3 separate regions of the Homo sapiens genome follow, and all the other regions are linked to region 2. Evidence: promoter capture Hi-C in 16 types of primary human blood cells and fetal thymus (Javierre and others, 2016). All regions are on one chromosome and are shown on one strand. The core of a region is centred on a gene start or on the middle of the fragment in contact, and the rest is flanking DNA. Distances in the headings are between cores, read along the strand shown. Region 1 holds the start of IQUB (IQ motif and ubiquitin domain containing). Region 2 holds the start of SND1 (staphylococcal nuclease and tudor domain containing 1). Region 3 holds the start of WASL (WASP like actin nucleation promoting factor).

What was found. Contacts are between HindIII fragments. The CHiCAGO score rates a contact against its expected background, and 5 or more counts as called.
Region 1: the fragment with the promoter of IQUB here is called in contact with the fragment with the promoter of SND1 in region 2 in 3 of 17 cell types (non-activated CD4 T cells, total CD4 T cells and naive CD8 T cells); the score reaches 15.7 in non-activated CD4 T cells.
Region 3: a contact is called between the fragment with the promoter of WASL here and the fragment with the promoter of SND1 in region 2, in 2 of 17 cell types (M1 macrophages and M2 macrophages). The highest score is 7.6, in M1 macrophages.

What each region holds. Positions count from the first base shown.
Region 1 is chr7:123,533,273-123,536,668 of GRCh38, forward strand. It overlaps IQUB (IQ motif and ubiquitin domain containing), which reads right to left and starts at 1,323. Exons shown (of 13, transcript NM_178827.5): 1 at 1,220-1,323. LOC124901740 (a long non-coding RNA gene) reads left to right here and starts at 1,259. Exons shown (of 2, transcript XR_007060507.1): 1 at 1,259-2,153; 2 at 2,333-2,987. RefSeq lists silencers at 1,390-1,619, 1,640-1,789, 1,870-1,999 and an enhancer at 2,070-2,209. The HindIII fragment of the contact is 3,094 bases long and covers 686-3,396 here.
Region 2 is chr7:127,650,763-127,653,975 of GRCh38, forward strand. SND1 (staphylococcal nuclease and tudor domain containing 1) reads left to right here and starts at 1,432. Exons shown (of 24, transcript NM_014390.4): 1 at 1,432-1,689. The coding sequence starts at 1,612. It overlaps SND1-DT (SND1 divergent transcript), which reads right to left and starts at 1,070. Exons shown (of 2, transcript NR_186577.1): 1 at 911-1,070. RefSeq lists a silencer at 981-1,230 and enhancers at 1,028-1,646, 1,471-1,650. The HindIII fragment of the contact is 9,151 bases long and covers 1-3,213 here.
Region 3 is chr7:123,747,739-123,751,358 of GRCh38, forward strand. It overlaps WASL (WASP like actin nucleation promoting factor), which reads right to left and starts at 1,265. Exons shown (of 11, transcript NM_003941.4): 1 at 880-1,265. The coding sequence starts at 996. It overlaps WASL-DT (WASL divergent transcript), which reads left to right and starts at 1,457. Exons shown (of 1, transcript NR_170281.1): 1 at 1,457-3,243. RefSeq lists enhancers at 186-235, 995-1,649 and silencers at 678-767, 1,228-1,547. The HindIII fragment of the contact is 6,394 bases long and covers 1-3,620 here.

The DNA.
Region 1 (3,396 bases), core at 73-2,572, 4.1 Mb before region 2:
ATGAGTTCCCAGAATTAGAATGGACAAGTCAAAGGGCATACAGATCTTAATTTTGTTAAATTCCATCAAACTGTTTTCTATTATAGCCCCAAGAAGTTCCCCTTGACTGTTTCCTTACATCCTCATATTGTTTTATGAGTCCTAATAATTAAATATCCCTTTGTTGTGTGTTGCCCTTATATTTCCCATTGTATGTTTGATGTTGTTTTTCTCTTACTATATAAAAGTTTTAGATTGTTAGGTAGTGACATTTATCAATCTTTTTGCTTATGAGAGTTTCCAAATTTCCTGACATGCTTCGAAACACCTTCTCACAATGAAACATAAATACATAAATTCATCCATAAATGCATAAATGAGACAGATCTGTAAATATTGATAGAAAACAACTGGACACACAGTCTTAAGTGTAAAAGCCAATCACAGAAGAGTATGCACAATGTTACAGGTGTAACTACATATTTGCGTATGTCTAAAACACCTGTGGAAGGTGGCCTGGAGATGGGGAGAAATGGGTAGATGGAGGATTTTCACTCTTCATTCTTTTTACTATTCGAACTATTTTTTTATGTATTATCTATTCAAATGAAAATGTTTAAATCTTATTGTTTAAAAAGCAACCTCTATCATGTTTGCATACAAAAAAGTCTCCCTTTTCACCTACATTTCATTCCCTACCATTTAAAGCTTAACACATTTAGAATGTAGTATAATTAGTGAGGCAGGGATCCAGTATTGCCTTCTACCAAATAGATCTGTTGAATTTTTAGGTTTGTTAAGAGGCAAAGACCAAGGGTGGAGAGGAAGGAGTGAGAGTGCCAGGTGAGGAAAGTCTAAAATCTCTCGACTTAATATGAGAATGGTGGCCACGGAAGGCTAAGAGTCTCTAGTGCCAGGTGTGGGTTATACACACATCTTCTATGCAATTACCGTGACAAGCACCCAGGGTGTGAGGTGAGGTGTACCTCCTAGCTTGATGCTGCTGGTTCAAGTCCCAAATCAGAGAGGGGAAGCCAAAAAAGGAGCCGAGAAAGATGAGATGCTTCGCACGGTTTTTAAAGTAAAGTCGGAACATTCCTGACCGACTAGGCAGCCCCAGGCGCTCAGGTGGGAATCACTGCCCAGCACACAGAACCCAGAGTCCAGCGCGGCTGTCACCGGCTCTAGGCTGGATCTAAGCGTCGGACCAGGAGGCCGCAGTCAAAATCTGTTCTCCTACCTGTGTACGAAACCAAACTATTCTCGTCGAAGTGCTTTCCCAGGCTCCTAAGACGCAGCTTCCATACTCGCCGCGTTCTCAGCTGTTGGTCGTATCCTAGCAACGGCCCTGGCACCACCTCTTCCTGCCGGAGCACGGCAGGGGTGGGAAGGAGAGGAGCCAGAGGCGGGTGGGGGGGAGGAGCCAGAAGAGGGCAGCGGGGAGGGGCCGGGAAGGAGGAGCGCGGCAGGGTAGGGGGAGGAGCCAAAGACTGGGGGCGGGGCCGGGAAGGAGGAGGGCGGCAGAAGAGAAGGGGATGAGCCAGAGGCGGGGAGGTGGGGCCGGGAAGGAGGAGTGCGGCAGGAGAGAAGAGGAGTAGCCAGAGGCGGAGGGGCGGTGTCGGGAAGGAGGAGCGCGGCAGGAAATAAGGGAAGGAGCTAGAGGCGGGCTGGGGGCCGGGGTCTGGAAGGAGGATCGCGGTAGGGAAGAAGAGGAGCCAGAGGAGGGGGATGGGGGCTGCAAAGGAGGAACGCGATAGGGAAAAGGGGGAGGAGCCAGAGGCGAGGGGGCGGGGAGAAGAAACATGGCAGGAGAAAGGGGAGGAGCCAGAGGCGAAGAGACAGGAAGAGGGACGCGTCAGGGAGAAGGGGAGGAGTCAGAGGCGAGCGGGCGTGGAGGAGGGAAGCGGCAGGGAGAAGGGGCGGGGCCAGAGGCGAAGGGGCGGGGAGGAGGGACGCGGCAGGGAGAAGGGGAGGAGCCAGAGGCGGAGGCTGTTACCAACTGGCTACCTAGATCCAAGTGAATCAGGACACTAACTTCTCTCCAAGATCTTTTACACTTGTGAAACGGCACAGCTCTCTAAACCAAACACTGACAGCAGTTTAATTTTACAGATATAAAAAAAATCCGAGTCAGAGAAATCATCACGATGAAGTCAGAGGCGAGAAACTGTCAGGTGCCTACTTGCTTTTGTTAAACTAACAACTTGGCTCTCAGCTTCCTGGCAGCCAAAGAGAAAAGGGAGATAGTAGCTATCAAATAATTCTGCTTAGAAGAACTTTTGTTAATCACTAAATTAGTTAATAAACTAAATTTTGTCTAACAACAAATTCTTTTTTTTTTTTTTTTTTCTAGTGTATACAGAGTCTTGCTCTGTCGCCCAGGTTGAAGTGCAGTGGTTCGATCTCGGCTCAATGCAACCTCTACCTCCCTGGCTCCCGCGATTCTCCTGCCTCAGCCTCCTGAGTAGCTGAGATTACAGGCGCCCGCCACCACCCCCGGCTAATTTTGGTATTTTTAGTAGAGATGGGGTTTCACCATGTTGGCCAGGCTGATCTGGAACTCCTAGCCTCAAGCAATCCGCCTTCAAAAGTGTTGGGGATTACAGGAGTGAGCCACCGCGCCCGGCCTATCAATGAATAAGAAAACTTTTAAAGAACCACAGGATAGTATTGGAGGTCAAGTCAAGTATGTTCCTCTTGGAAATTTAGTAACAAACTACATGTTGCTATCTCATAATAGCAGCTAACATTTATGAAGTATTCATTGTCATGAGGCACCGTACATAGATTTCTAATTTAATCCTTACAACGATTTTATTAGGGAGAAACTGCTATTAGACCCATTTTGTAAATGAGAAAACTAAGGCACACAAAGTTTAATGAGGGAACCAGGATTAAACCTAAGCAATCTAACTCCAGGTCCCAGATTTTTTAACCATTACAGTACTGTTTAATTTGATTTGATATGTTAAAAGGATTAATAAAATTAATACAGGTCCATTCCCTTATTCATAAATGTTCATTGTCTTCATTTATTTCTTTATACTGTTCTGCTGAAATTGCACTCTCATCTCCCCAATAACTTTGTAATATCCAATGCCATTTTTTTCAGTCATCCCATTTTAAAATATATTTTTACTAGAATAGTGAAATATATATTCAGATAAAATTGGCTTTGTTTTAATAATGATCAGTAAAAGTAAATTCATTTTAATCATTTCCACACATTCATGAAAAGTAAAGGGGAAAAATGGGCATAGAGGTAACCACTAGAATTAGGCTTTCTTGGATGGGTAGACCAGGTGTGGAGGTGTGCAGATAAGATTTTACAAACACTCATACACTCCCATCTCCAAAATCATAATTTATCTTACATTCTGCTACTAATAAACATTCCACTGGTTTTAAACATTCACT
Region 2 (3,213 bases), core at 182-2,681:
GATCTAAGAAGGTGACCTCAAAACTTAACCCTGGGATATGTTTAGTGTGGGAGAATAAACTTACAATCTTTTAAGAGAGCAAGGGGCCATGCACTGTGGTTAATGCATGTAATACCAGCACTTTAGGAGGCCGAGGTAGGAGTATAGCTTGAGCCCAGGAGACCAGCCTGGGCAACATAGTGAAATCTCAGCTCTACAAAAAAAAAATTAGCTGGGCGTGGTAGCGCGGACCCGTGGTACCAGCTCCAGCTACACCGGAGACTGAGGCAGGAGGATCGCTTGAGCCTGGGAGTGTCAAGGCTGCAGTGAGCCGTGATCGTGCCCCCGCACTCCAGCCTGAGCGACAGAGCGAGACTTTGTCTCAAAAAAGCCACAAAACCAAAGAAACAAAAAGAACTGCAAGGGAAGTACTGTCTTCAGTGTAGAGCCAAGTTTTACGATTAAATGACATAACACATGCAAGGTCCTTGGTTCCACATAGTGGGCACTCAACGAATATTAGTTCTCGCTAAACAGTCACTTAAATATTTGTAGGCCTTGGCTTTCCCGTTCCTTCCCCGACCTTTTTACTGGGGCTAGGGAAGGTATCCGGTGGCTGGAGGCGCTTCACACTGGGTCGGGTGAGAGCGTGAAGCGAGCCTTTTCCCTAACGTCACGGGAGCAGCTGGGAAGAGACCGAAGAACGAGGGTCACTCTCCCCTGTATACGTGGCATGTCCTTCCTCTGAGACATTTATTCCTCCCACCAACAAACATTAATGGAACGCCTCACAAGTGCTAGACCCCAGCGACACAAACAAGGGCGAGGCACACTCTCTGACTACAAAAAGGGCGCGCGGCCGCGTGGCAGGTCAAAGCCCACATCGGTAGGAGGTTCCACAAAGCTCTGATTTTCCAAGTTCTCTCCATACTTTTAGCCAAGGTAAAATGTCGGAAGTCGAGTGGAGCGGGTACGGAGATTCCTCCAGGACTCTGCCTGCGTGGCTCCACCCTCCCAGGCCGCATTCCCGGGTACAGCGGCGCCCACCTAGGTGGGTATACAAGTGTGCGCCCCTGAGGCCAGCGGGGAAGGACGTCATGGGCGAGGTCAGGCGGGAGGGCGCGGCTGGCTCCGCCCCTGGGGCTCCCATGGCCCCCCGCGCCCCGCGGCCAGATGCTGACGTGTCCTTTCCTTCCCACTACACCTCCCGACATTACCTACTCCGGCTGCCCCGGAAGTCCCGCCCCATATTTAGCCCATCCTTGCAAATCAACTCTTTCAGCGCTTCCTGGAACTCACCACCGTTTTGGGGACCAAGAGGCGGGGCTCCGCGAGCAGGGTGCCTATTGGCCTGAGGGCCGGCGGGCTCTGGGCGCTAATTGGGCGGAGGGCGGTGGCGCTCTGGCACGCTTGCGCGGCGAGTAGAACGTGTGGCGGCGGCGGAGATCGCGTCTCTTTCGCTCCGTGTCCCGCTGCTGCTCCTGTGAGCGCCCGGCGAGTCCGTCCCGTCCACCGTCCGCAGCTGGTAGCCAGCCTGCCCCTCGCCTCGACTCCCTTTCACCAACACCGACACCCACATTGACACCTCCAGTCCGGCCAGCCGCTCCACTCGTTGCCTTTGCATCTCCACACATGGCGTCCTCCGCGCAGAGCGGCGGCTCCTCCGGGGGACCCGCGGTCCCCACCGTGCAGCGGGGCATCATCAAGATGGTGAGAACGGGCCCCGGACACCGACCCCTCTGCCTGCCTTCGGGCGGGAGTCAGGCATTGACTCCACCTTCCGCCAGCCTGCTCCATGTCCCAGATCCCCTTTCCTCTGCCCCCTTCCTCACTTTTCGTCGATTCTCCGAATCCTCTCACTAGACGGAAGCAGACACGGAGTCCCCTTGTTCCTTGCCTCCCGGACACCTTGACATCAGGGGTCACAGTGATTTCCGAGGTTGCGGCATTCGGATCTCCTGTCTGTTTACCAGGACAGATCGATTACTGATTGATTAACAGAGACAATTCGTTGATATCTGTCCTCCCATCCCCCGTCTTTCTGTTCATTTTGACATATGCTGAGTAGTTAGTAGTTTTTCGAGATCCTGACATCGGCTCTTCTCTACTAGTACTTGGCCATCATGAAACTTTTCTGTTCCCACAAACGCTGTTACTTGACTCCCAAGTTTTCTCACTCTGTGGCCCTCTTTTCCTCTCTTTCCCTCCACCTCTTGTGTCGACCTGAAAGCTCCTGATCTTTGTGTACTTTTGACTTCTAAAAGGTTAGGCCGGCAAGAATCTTAGTAATCATCATTGTTCTCCCGTCCCTTAAAGATAAGGAGATAGGCTTGAAGAAGGCAAGTGACTTGCTTAAGGTCACATGGTGGTTTGGGTTGGAGCCATAGCAAGAGCCCAAGTGTTCGGATTCCTGGTCTAGTGCTCATAGCACTATAGATTCTGCCTGATTTTATATACCCTCAACTTTTTGAAAATTCTTCAATTTTGAATTTGAACCTGCAAAGTTTATTTTTACAATTTACTCCTAGCTCCATGATAATTTGATAATATAAATTCAGTTTATCACTTGCCCCCAGTTGTCCTCCCCAAAACCCTTCCAAATCTTGGAACCTGACATTTCTTGGTTTTACCAATTTTCTGGTTTATGATGACTGTAAACTTCTAGATGTCGTTTCATACTGCAGTTCTGACATTTGTATCTGCAACAGCAAATATCTTTTGTGATACTTTCTCCCAAGGCTCCACAAGTTTTGCTGTTGTAGAAAGTTTTGAAAAATTCTATTTTAGGCCTGGTGCGGTGGCTCATGGTGGTAATCCCAGCACTTAGGAGGCCGAGGTGGGAGGATTGCTTGAGGCCAGGAGTTGGAGATCAGCCTGGGCAACATAGCAAGACCCAGTTTAAAAAAAATTCTATTTTATTACCCTGTTATCTTTCACAAGATTAAAATGTTCTGCAGCTTATGTGTGTGTAAAGCTGATTTTAAGATCCCCTCGCCCAATTCCCATGTGCTCATTTCTTAAGGTAATAGTCTGCCACCAGCCAAGATTCTTGGGATTTTCAGTACTGCCTTTTCCTTTTGTTTATGTGTAATGGAGGGTCAGAACTGATCTGAAACTGAATGAGAAGAGAATTTCCAAGATCCGCATATATTTTTCCTCTGAAATACTGACCTGACCCATGAAAGGATTATCCTAAAGTGGCTCTTCTTTCGTTAGCTTTTTCATTTGCACTGA
Region 3 (3,620 bases), core at 15-2,514, 3.9 Mb before region 2:
GAGCAGAACCTCCCCACCCCCAGAATTGCCAGCAGCCAATGTAATGAATGCTTCCGTCAACAACACACATTCCCCTTCCCACAGCAGAACTGCTCGCTCCCAACCGGCCATCTGGGGTTGGAATTGGCCGCACAGCACCAAACTAAGAATCATTCTCGGCCCCAAAAGCCAAGAGCTACCAGAGATTGAGGTTTCCCTGCGCATGGCTGCGGGGAGAGCAGCACCCCCTCCCACCAATGGGGGGAAAAAAAAAATCAGTGGGAAGGAGAGTAGAAACCAGGCCTAGGCAAGGTTGCTAGAGAAATAAATCTTGTTTCTCTTTAACGAAGAGCAATAACATTTCTTGCACCCTCTCTAATCCGAAGAGAGCCCAGGCTCTTGCACTCGACTTCATTCCCTCCTGGAATCCTAATGGGAGATTAAAAACCACCTTCCTTCCCCGACCTATCCACTCCTCAAACCTGGCATTGTTAAGGAACGTACCCCCAGATCAAGCAGTAAGAGGTGAAGCGAGAGCTAGAACAAGGGCCCAGATTCTAGGACCAAGCGGCTCTTGCAAGAAAATCCCCTTGTGGCCTGAGAATAAAGTTTTAACCAGCAGCAAGGGCGCGGGCCGAGGCCCGGCCAGGCTGGAGGACAGGCCTGCGGAGGTGACACTCCCTTATTCTCCAGCAGCTCGGGAAGGCGGCGCCCGACCGCCACGGCCCGCACCCTGGGAGCAGGGCGAGGGCGCCGACGAGGGGCCGGGGCCGGGGCCGGGGCTGGCGGGAGGCCTGGCCCGCGCCGCTCCCGCCTCCTTCCCCACTCCCACTTCCCGGCCCCCAAGCCCGGGCCCGTGAGGTAATGTCACGGGTGGCGACGCGGGTCTCGTCCACTGACCACACATTTCTTGCCGAGGAAAGTGAAGAGGGACTCGTTCTCCTGCGGGGTGAGCAACAGGGACCCCACGTTGGTGACCCTCCGCGGCGGCGGCGGCTGCTGCTGGACGGAGCTCATGGTTTCGCCGGCGGGGTTGGGAGTCCAGGGCCGTCTCCTCCGGCGAGTGGGCGAGAGCTCGTTCCCCCTCTCGGTGACAGGGGCGGGGAGAAGTGGAGTCAGAGGCGCCACATCTCGCAGCTCCTCCGGAGCGGGGAGGAGGACGAGGTCGAGGGAAGCAGGCGCTGACGGCGAGCCACCTTCGCGCCGCGCTGAGAAAGGGAAGCTCCCGGCACCCGCCCGGCCAGGCTAGGGCCGGATGGTCGTTGTCCTCGCACTCCGGCGACTGCGCTAAACTCCCAACTCCTCCCCCAACCCTCCCGCAGCGGCGGCGGCGGCCGCACAATCCAACATGGCAGCGGGGGCGGGCGAGACCACAGGACGGAGGGCGCGGGGGAGCGCGCCGGAAACGCGCGGCTGCGGCCCGGGAGAAACCCCCCCACTCGGCGGCGGGCCTCGCGGCGCGGGCCCGAAGCCACGCCCCCTTCCGGCCGAGGCGCGGACCGCGCGGAGCTAAGTGGAATCCCGGTTGGCTTGGGGCGCAGGCTTCCAACTTCGTACTCTGGCCTCTGGCGTCTCGGCTCGTCGGTTGGGTACCCGAACCCAGCTACTGCTGCTTGAAGAGAAGATGGATGGGGACTCCTCGCCGTCGCTGCGCCGCCGGCCTTCCCTGGGCGGACGTACACCTTTGCGAAGCGTCAGTGAGGACCCAGGGCCCCTCCTTGGAATAGCTCTTATTTCTCAAGCGCTGCAGCGTGAAGCTCGCTCTGCGGGTCCGAGAGGCCTGCGATCTGAAGACTGAAAACTGGGAAGAGACGCTCTACCCTGTGCTCCTCGCCGGCTTCGATAGGAGCCGCAGGTGCCTGGGATTTTCTCAAACTTTGTCCCAAACTTCAGCTGTGGGAGTGGAGGAACAAACAGGCCTCTCCCAGAATTGTGAAAGAGATCGCCCTGGTGGATGAAACAAAAACAAATGCACTTGACTTCCACCGCCTGCCTGGCGTGTCACGCGGGTTTAATGTATGTGTCACATTTAAATTCAAAGTATTTTCTTCTAAGGGCCTGGACACATTTCTTTTCTCCCTGTATCGTGAATTGGAAAATACCTTAGGATATTAAAAGTTATCTAAGATAACCCCCTTTCTTCTGTAAGTTAAATACTAAACGGCTTAAGACGAAATTTTGGAATATAGAGATGATGATGCAGACTGCAGTGAATTATCAAATATGCATCTCACTGTTCTCCACATTAAACATATTTTTGTTGCGTAAATTCATGTTAAGACGTCTATAACAATTACACTTTGGTAAAATTGTTGGATGTTAACATCTCTGATAGCTCCCAATAGAAATCTCTGATGTACTAACCAGACTGGTAAACCATTATCATGCACTTTGAAAATATAATAAAATATTATAATTAAAGCTGCCATTAATGAAATAGGCTGAGCAACAATAAATTTACAAAGGAAAATAAAAGTGGATAGCCTTGGGAGTTCTCACATAAAATATGGAGATTTCAAAGTTAAACTTGATTAATTATGTTAGGGTAAAAAGTGAATTAAAGCAACAGGACTATTTATAAAATAATTAGATTTAGAAAGCAGTCGTAGAAATATAAGCCTGGAGTTGCCTCTGAATTACATATTTAACAAACCTAGAAGCTAAATCAGTTTGTCTTTTATCAAAACTGCAACTCCTCTAAGTTGAAAGCACAGTGACAAGAGAAAGCATTACAAATTCTTGAGAAATAATAGAAATTAAAGCTCTTTTCAAACCTGTGAACAAGTATAGTACCAGAAGTATAAGATTCAGATAGGCCCAAGTTGTAGTTCTTGTTATGAGTCTTACAACCCTATGGACTTTGGACAAATTACTTCTCTGCGTCTGTTTCCTCATCTGTAAAATGAAAATAATTTCTGTTTCATACAGGTATAGTCTAAATAGGGATAATTACACCTACTTCAAAGTTGTAAAATACACAATTACAACTAGATAGGAGGTATAAGTTCTAGTGTTCTGTAGCACTGTAGGATGACTATAGTTAACAATATTGTATAGTTTCAAATAGCTAGAAGAAGGATATTGCATGTTCCCAAAACAAAGACATAAGTTTTTGAGATGATAGATATGCTAATTACCCTAATCACTATATGTTATATGTATTGCAACATCACTATGTACCCCCATAAATATGTACAGTTATTGTGTATTAAAATTTTTTTAAACTAAAATTATAAGACATTAAAAAAAGGTATCACATGTAAAGTACCTGATACATAGTGGTTACTCAAGTATTAGTTGTCGGCCATTGACAGTCCTTGCCTATGGTCTTTTCTGCTTTCCCTGAGCTAAGGGATCAAGACTTAATATATGTATTCTTACCTTTGTTCTAATTCTGACTCTTCAAAAACTGTCCTTCAAATATACAATTGTACATATTTTTTCAAAAATATAGTGAAGAACTTGATAGCAGAATTTCTGATTAGGCCATATATTATATCAAATAGGCTACATATATCCCAGTATGCCAAAATAAAACTTTTTAAAACTGTAAATCCAGAGATAGAATCCTATTAGCTTCTAATTTAATAAAAACTGAAAGATTAGCAAATTTTATGTTAGAAATACCAGCTTTTAGAACT